Regions from separate parts of the Homo sapiens genome. Here region 1 is linked to region 2. Evidence: promoter capture Hi-C in 16 types of primary human blood cells and fetal thymus (Javierre and others, 2016). All regions are on one chromosome and are shown on one strand. The core of a region is centred on a gene start or on the middle of the fragment in contact, and the rest is flanking DNA. Distances in the headings are between cores, read along the strand shown. Region 1 holds the start of LINC02478 (long intergenic non-protein coding RNA 2478). Region 2 holds the start of PSMD14 (proteasome 26S subunit, non-ATPase 14).

Region 1 (4,385 bases), core at 1,778-4,277, 1.0 Mb before region 2:
TCTGAGCCTCCCAAGTGGCTAGGACTACAAGTGTGTGCCATCATGCCAGGCTAATTTTTAAAATTTTCTTGTAGAGATGACTCTTGCTATATTGCCCAGGCTGGTCTCAAACTCGTGGCCTCAATCAATCCCCTGGCCTTGGTTCCCAGTGTTGAGATTACAGGCATAAGCCACTGTGCCCAGCCTCTCCTTGGGTTTTATACTTATTTCATAGTTTTGATCATACTGTATCTACAGGTCTGTTCCTAACACTTTTTATTCACGTTATATCCTAAGCATTTTCCATGTCATTAAAATGTCCTCATTTTAAAATGACTTCATATTATCTTGCATGTCTTTAGCGTAACTACTGTCATTTAAAAAATAAAGCAACATAGGGATTTTCACTGGCTACAAGTTCTAAGAATTGTGGTATGTCTGAGAAGTCAAAAAGGAACCGGCAGGGCAGGGGAGACAGGTGAAGTCCCAAGTTCTTCCTCCGGTTTTGGGTTTTATCCTGAGTCAACTGTGGTACATCTGGAAGGTGAGTTGATGATGTGGAGTGACCAGGGCTGACGAGGAAGAGTTAAAGCTGGAAGGAATGCTCAACCCAGAGAAGAGCAGAGCCATGGAGTCACGTTTCCACACTTGAAGTATGACTGACTGACTCTGTGGCATCCCGGTTGGCAGCACTAAGGCCGGTAAGTGGGAATTTCAAAGCCACAATTTGGACTCCTCTGCAAACAAGTTTGAGAGCTGTTCCCTAAAGCTACCTGATGCCCTGTGAGGCAGGCAGTGCCTGGTCCCTGGAGGTGTTCAAGTAGGGCAGGTGGCTTCAAGGATACTAGAGGATAGGAAATCCCTGCAGTCTGGTTTATGGTCTGGGTCCTGTGTGAGCACTGGAATAGCCTACATCAAATCTTAAGTCTCTCAGAGTCGCATAAAACAACCGAATTCTTTAATTCAAAGCCACGTTTTCAATTCTGAGCAGCCCAGAGACCTGCCATCGCTTTCTCGCGCCGAGTCACGTGGTCTGGCAAGGCGCGCGGTTTCCTCCCTAGCCGCCCCCAGCTGCCCTGAACCTTCAAAGTCACATTTCAGTCACTCCCCAGTCTGACCAACAACGCTCACAATGAGGGCGCTGCCAGCACAGGCGACGGCCTGCGCTCCAGTCTTACGAGGAACCCCAAATTCAAGACCCCTGTGACCCAGGCCTGTGTGCCCCGACAGGCTAAACCTCCGCCCAGGGGCTTCCCGATGTCGGCTGCAGCGGGTCTGGGTTTTCGGCCTGCAGAGCTCGCGTCTGACGGCTGAGGAACAAAACACCCTCCCTCTAGCGGCTCAAGCGCACACACCCTCTTGCCTTCCGCAGCCACCGAGCGAGTCACGGGAGACACTCTGGAGCCATTTTGCGGGGCTGGAATTCCTTCGCCCGGCGGAGCTCGGCGCGCACCCGTCAGCTGTGCCGAGGACCCTGCGCCCGGGGGGCCCCGCGGCCACGTGACCCCCATCTGGCTCTCGGCCTGGACTGAGGGGGCTGAGCTCATCGCGTTGCTATTCGAGGGGCAGAGACTGCCTGGCCTTCCTCAAATCCTGAGCTCCCGGCTCTCCTCCCTCCCCCACCTACTTGACATCTCAGGCTTTTTGTGGAAGGGGCAGGGCGATTGAGAGGTCGGTGACCTTTGTCCCAATGGCGCTGGCTCTTTTCCTTTTTGGCTACCCTAATGGAATGAGGATATAATCAGTCATATCTTAACATTCATTGAGCCCCGGCTCAGGCTGGGAGGCACTGCCTTTCTCCTAGTGAATTTTAAATCAGTATTTGTGGGATTTAAGCTCCAGCGGATAAACCTAGAGCCACTGGCCATGAAGGGTGTGGCAGTGGGGTGAAAAACGGGACTCCCGCCTCCACTCCCTGGCTTTCCTCATTCCAGCCACTATAGAGGGGAAAATACGTAGACCACAGAGCAACGGCCACACCCTCTTTCCTCTCCTCCAACCCCAGAATTCCACTTCAGTCTCAGAGCTTTCAGCTAGGTGGGGTTTATCCCCAAACATGCCACAACCCCTCTAGTTATATGGGAGCGGTAACTGTGAACCACCATCGCTGGCTTGATCCTCCCTTTTCCGTGGATTGGTGCTCCTGAGTATGTTTACCGGTTTCAGTACATAACACAGCCAGATAGAGGGCCGCGGACTTCAGCGGCGAGAAGCTACAACAAAAATAGGGTGAACAAAAACGAAGGTGCCCAGGAGCCTGAATTGCATTTCTTTCTTACCTTTGGTCATAGAAAGGAGCACTTAGGTGTTTGGCTGGAACGCAAAGTGAGACCAGAGCTTACATTCTTAGCAGCCTGGGTTTGTCTCGAGAGGCCATGCTTCTCTCCTCCCTGACATTTTGCTCTCAGAAGCACCAGTTAGCATCAGAGGAATGTTGTTTCCTTCTCTGAAACAGCCATCAAGTACCAGCGATTTCTTGGCTCCGGCAAGTTAAGTGCTCTGACCCCTCCCTTATCTAACTCACCCCGCACACCATCCACATGGCAGGGGACGCAGCCAGAAATGGAGCGGACTGCATCTTTTCCTTGCCCACTCTTTTTATCACCATGACAGAGCCACTGGACACCAGGAAATAAATACTGAACCACCACACTAAAACGTTTACTCCACTTTGGGCAGAAGGAGCCTATTTTGCATATTAAGTGCCTCCTATAAAGCAGTCAAGTGAGGGAAAGAGGAGTTCTCGCTCCTCCGTGAATGCTGCACGGGAGCCTCCAGTCGGGAACAGCTGAACAGGTAGCTCTGAAAGAGGACCTTGGTCATAAACGCATAGATAAGATTATCCCGAGGTTCTCGCCCACATGCTTCCTTACCACAGGTGGGAGGGCTGCTGTTAGGCTGTCTTCCTTGCTGAGCATTGACAAGCAATGAAATAGTTGAGGCGTAGCAGCAAGAAAGGAGGAAGAAAAAGGGCCTGGTTTTTTGGTCTTTAAGAACAGACCACTAGTGGTGTATTTTGGGCTGGATATTTGCTGAGCCGACCGTTGACGTGCTGAGCTGACGGTTGACGTGCTGAGCTGAGGGTTGACGTCTCTGGTCATTACACAGATTTAAATAACCAGCAAAAGTGGGGTGGAAAGGTTTTTCCAATTGTTTTCAAGGAAATGTATTTTGAGGATATATTGAATCTGACATAACTTTCAACTCACTTTCAAACCAATCTACTGAGCTGAAGAAAGAGATCAGAAATGAAATGAAATTCTGATATACACTTAATCGACTTAAAAAAAATTGACAGGAAAAATAAAATTTCAGATGTTTTTTATTCAAAGGTTCTCAAAAGAAATAAAACAGAAAAGCTAACAATCTGATCAAATGTACAGTTCAAAAATGTCTTTTGGCGTTTAACAACAAGTCCTAGGAAAGAAAACTACAGAGTTATCTTGAACCGGACAAATAAGTTACCACTGGCAAGTCTGTGGCACTAGTAAAACAAAAATAAAAAATTAACTCTCTTGATCATATAGATATCTCTATGAAAATCTTTTTTTTTCAATCTGTACAAAAGGTCTTTCTTCATAAATTAATTTTTTTATAATTTAATGGCTGTCTACTATGTGATGTTTAACTGATTTTTTTTTTTTTATGTACAGAGGTTATGTTTCCCAAATCTTACCCAGACGAGTATGGCACTTAGTTCAGACATTTCTAGCAGCAGATTTCCCCTCCCCTCTAACCGAGCTATCAAATTTCTGTCTTAACTAATGCAAAAATATCAAGTAGTGAGAGACCCAGGTTTATAACTGTACTAGGTACACAGAGGGTGCTGCGTTCAGTCTGGACTTTCACAAAGCAGTAATATTCCAGGGAGCATAGAACCAATAATACCACAACTTTAAAAAAATGAAACAAAAACAAAAACAAAAACACATTTCTCTTATGACTATGTAATTTTCACTAGAATCTACACTTCTCAGAGCAGCAAGGACTTTTGAAACTATGAAATGTCACTGACATCTATCATCAAATACAAGCATAAAATTTAAGAACTAAAAAATACTTGAAAGAAATAACTGCTTAGCCCTAGCTCCTGAGCTAGGAGGATTTGGTCTGTGGAAACAGGGAGGGCCAGCAACCTGTCCCAGCACAAAAGAAAATAGACTCTGAGGTAGATAACTGATCATACACAGCTGACCAGACAAGTACACAGTTTTGGAAGACAACTTAATTTACCATTGCTTTTAAAACATATGCAATTGCCTTAATAAAAGAGCTTTAATAACAGTGAATTATCTTATATGTACTAAAGTAGAAATAACTGTGTATTTATGAATCAGGAATTTCATAGTTTCAAAATTGGTTTTCTTTACACTTGAACACTTGTAGTGATGATGTAAAGTGTGGCA
Region 2 (4,209 bases), core at 1,151-3,650:
ATCTTAACTATTTTGAAAACTGAACATTTTAAATAATATAATGTGCAACACTGGAAATCAGATTCTACCCGCTCCCCAAGCTTCACTGTTATTTCTGTTTGTTGTAGCAGTTGTTGATTTAGTGACTTTTCTGAACTCATTCTTTTTTTTTTTTTTTAGAGATAGGGTCTGAGTTGGTGACTCAAGGGATCCTCTGGCCTTAGTTTACCGAGTAGCTGGGACTACACGTGTGCCACCGCACCTAGCTTATGAATGAATTCTTTAAAGTCTGCATTGTTTATTGTGTGTGACCACTCAGGTTTCTGCTCAGTTAGCTTAGTGGTCAACTAATGATTAGAGAGACAGGTTTTCTTAAACACCTTCAACCAAAAAATCTCCCAGTCTTTCCTGAGGGGTTTAGTACTTACGTTGGGACAAGCCTTCAACAATCAGCCAAGCACTTTACATTAGGTTGGTACCAAAGTAATTTCGTTGAAATGACAAAACCGCAATTTTTTGCACCAACCAACCAAATAATTCTGCCTTAGCCTTCACTTCTTGCTTCTGTAGTGCCTCAAGGTCACCCAGAGGTTAGAGCTCAGGGCCTTCTCAGGCCTATCTTGAGTGTTCACATAACCCTAGACATATGCACACCCTAAGCACCTTCTACAGTCTCAGGAATATGTTAGCGTTTTTCAAAGCCCTATGGACATCTTATTCCCCAGCTAAATACTTTAGTATGGCTGGAGCAAAAGGTGCTCCAAACAAAGTTTAAGGGTTTTTTTTTTTTTTGACCTTTATAATGAATGTTATGGGGAGCCACTAGTGGAATTTTAAATAAAGAAGGAGCATGACTACATATAGCACAAAAATTTTTACCAGTGAGGTGGAGAATGGATTAAAAGGAATCAGACCGAAGGCGGAAAGATCAAAGAGCATTCTAAAAAAGTAGCCTGGGGAACATGGTGAAATCCTGTCTCTACTAAAAAAATAAAATAAATAAAAACATAAATAAAAATTAACTGGGCATGGTGGCAAGCGCCTGTAGCCCTAGCTACCTAGGAGGCTGAAGTGGGAGGGTTGCCTGAGCCCGGGGACGGGATGTTGCAGTGAGCCCAGATGGCGCCACTGCACTCCAGCCTGCGTGACAAAGCAAGACCCTAACTCAAAAATGCATTAATAAATAAATACATATAAAATAAAATAAAATAAAAAAGAAGTGAGGAAGGTCTGAGTTAAGGCCAAAGTGGGGAGTATTTAGAAGGGGAAGTGGTGGATTGGAAAAGCTGTTATGGAGATTACACATTTCATGGTTTCTACAGTGGGGAGAGATGAAAAAGAGGCAAGTGTTCATACTCTTAAGTTTCTGATTAGGAAAATTATTTGGAGGACGGGGCTACTCACCCCCTCCTCCCATAAAAAATGAATAGAGAGGCATAGGTTTGGGGGGGAAGCATAAAGATGTGGATCCAAATATTACCTATGAGTAAAATAATCTTTGTGTTTTTAAAGGTATTAATATCTTAAAGCAATTGTGCTACTCAAATCACAGTTTGGATCCAGGCGCTGTAATCTTTCCTCACCCTCTGTCCAGTAGATTCATCACCATTCTCGATTTAGGAATGCTTTAAAGATGCTTGTTATTTGGAACATATTTGAGAAAGTGACAGGAACGTGGCAAACAAGCTGCCTTAAACAGAGACTGTACCTAGACCTAGAGTGTAATATCAACTTGTCAAGTATATCTTCTGCAACTTTGCTTTTTGAAAGCCTAGCACAAAGTAGATCATGAGTAAAATGTGATTGCCGATAATTACATGGAGAAATGTGAATAAATGACTCTTTAAACCCTGTAAACTAAACTCGGCTTAAAATAGGTGGTTTGAACATTTGGGAAACCTTAGTTTTCCCTGAAATCCAATCCTTGCAAAGCAATAATGACAAGAGGTGGATAAAGCGGACTTACAGAAAAGGGCGTCTTACCGGTCCCCTCTAATCACACCATCCCCCCTCTTTTAAAAAAATTTTCTTCTCAGATAACCAAGTTAAATCTAGCTCAAATGAACCTTTTAGTTTTTGAGGAGGGCAATAATAGTAGTGAACACCAAAACGAAAGGGGATCTGGGCTTCAAAATACTAACAGTTCTATTTCCTAGCCAGTCGTCTCCCGGGCTGGATGTGCCGCCGTCCCAGATCTCAGCGGCGGCCGCAGAGCGCAGAGGTAGGGAGAGAAAAAGGAGGCGTCGGCGGGGCGCGAGCGACCAGGGCGCTAAGTGCCGCCTCACAGTCCTGCCAGAGACAGGAGACGCCGGGCCGCCCGCGCCGTCTGTCCCAAGAGCTCCTCCTGGACATCCGCTTGACTCTCCGTCGTCTCCAATTGGCCGTCGGGGAACGGAAGCCGAAGCAAACTAGTGAACCCGGAAGTGCTTCGCGGCGGAGGCCCGGGCAACTCTTTTGAATGGAATCGGGCTGATTCATCGCCGGTTTGCAGACAGAGCCGCGTCGGGTGTGCGCCGCTGCTGCTGTTGCCTCTGTCTTCGCGTCACCACAGAGGCAAGACAAGGGTCCATATCGCGGCATCCGGCTCCCGCCCGTCTTCAGGTAAGACCCAGAAGGCAGGCCTGGGAGGTCTGGGGAGGCAGCCGTGCTAGGCCGCCGCCAGCCCCGTGCTTTCCTGAGTCACGTTGCCCAGCTGAGTTGCCACAGGAGGCCTGGGCCGCGAGGGAGGAGCCCGGCCTCCTTCATTCTCTTCGCCTGCTCTCAGGGCTCTCTGGCAGGGTCAGGTCTGGATGTCGCCTCCTTTCTCCATTCTTTTCTGTTTGGCCGAATTCACATCATGGGAACCTCTTCCATCTATATAGAGAGAATCCTTGTTTATGGCCTGTTTGTCTGTGCTCTATCCATAGTTGTTAACCGGTCTGCTTTGAAGTTTTTCAAAGCAGACCGGGAAAACAAGGGAGAGAGAGTAGAATTAACTTTCCCATTGAATACGTTTGTTTTATCTCTTGTCCTTCCTGTAAGCCTTAACCCTTTTTCTGTTAGTGTTAGGTTTTCAGCTCCCTCCAAAAAGTAAACAAAAGTCCTGCAGATACACTGCTTTTGGACCTTGAATATCTTAAAAACAAAGTGTGCTACTATGGCTGTTAACTTACTTTCAATATCATACTAATTGAGTAATTGTTGGTAAATTGATTACATTTCTCGTTTTAAGTAAAGTAGAAATCTGCTACCGTATGTTACATCTTGCAACTTAATTTTCCTGGGGATGTAGCTCTGTGTCTGTCAAAAGAAAAAGAATGTAAACTTTTGAGTCTATAAACCTAGTGACTGAAGGAAAAATTCTCGAGAAAATAAATGGTAATATAAGTTGATAAAATATTATGGAAAGGCAGGGGAAAGGGTTTAAAAATGAGCATAAAATAGAGTTATAGTGTGAAAGTGATTTTGTTCCACTGGTCACAAGTGTTTTTTTAGTGCTTCTGACTTAATGTGTTTGAGAAAAGCAGCAAGACATGCACTGATACTGTAGAAATAACAAAAACATGAACACAGTTTTAGTGGAGATGATTAATATAATGGTGGCCTTCCTGTCACGTAAGGCTACCTACCAGCTGACTCATTTGAAGTTTAGAGGTTAAGATATATAGTGGTTCTGAATTAACTACAGTTAAGGTGTGTTTAGTGAAGTGCTATTTAGTGAAAAAGGCTAAATGTTGTCTTGAATTTGTCCCTAAATCTTGCCAAGGGAAGAAAGTTTTCAAGTGATGATCTTTTATTGATGCTTCACCTGTTGACTTTGGGAGTTTTTGGTTTTTTGTTTTTTTTTCAGCCTAAAGTGCTTGGTAAATAATACATTGCCATTTTAATTTAGGCCGGGTGCGGTGGCTCACACCTGTAATCCCAGCACTTTGGGAGGCTGAGGTGGGCAGATCATGAGATGATCCAGCCTGGCCAAGACTAGCCTGGCTAACATAGTGAAAACCCGTCTCTACTAAAAGTATAAAAAAATCAGCCGGGCATGGTGGCACGTGCCTGTATTCCCAGCTACCTCAGGAGGCTGGAGGTGGAACCTGGGAGGTGGAGGTTGCAGTGAGCCAAGATCGCGCAACTGCACTCCAGCTTGGGCAACAGAGTGAGACTTTGTCTCAAAAAAAAGAGAAAAAGCTGAATTTTAATCTGTTTGACATGGGTTCATCTTATTTTCATACTGGCCATGTAAACCATGTGCTT

The links. The method cuts DNA at HindIII sites, captures the fragments that hold promoters and counts their contacts. A CHiCAGO score of 5 or more calls a contact.
Region 1: the fragment with the promoter of LINC02478 here is called in contact with the fragment with the promoter of PSMD14 in region 2 in 2 of 17 cell types (neutrophils and total B cells); the score reaches 12.3 in neutrophils.

Annotation. Positions count from the first base shown.
Region 1 is chr2:160,268,868-160,273,252 of GRCh38, forward strand. LINC02478 (long intergenic non-protein coding RNA 2478) reads right to left here and starts at 3,028. Exons shown (of 2, transcript NR_103775.1): 1 at 2,853-3,028. It overlaps RBMS1 (RNA binding motif single stranded interacting protein 1), which reads right to left. Exons shown (of 14, transcript NM_016836.4): 14 at 3,284-4,385. RefSeq lists an enhancer at 1,236-1,845. The HindIII fragment of the contact is 15,786 bases long and covers 1-4,385 here.
Region 2 is chr2:161,306,025-161,310,233 of GRCh38, forward strand. It overlaps PSMD14 (proteasome 26S subunit, non-ATPase 14), which reads left to right and starts at 2,401. Exons shown (of 12, transcript NM_005805.6): 1 at 2,401-2,580. RefSeq lists an enhancer at 2,269-2,728. The HindIII fragment of the contact is 7,205 bases long and covers 79-4,209 here.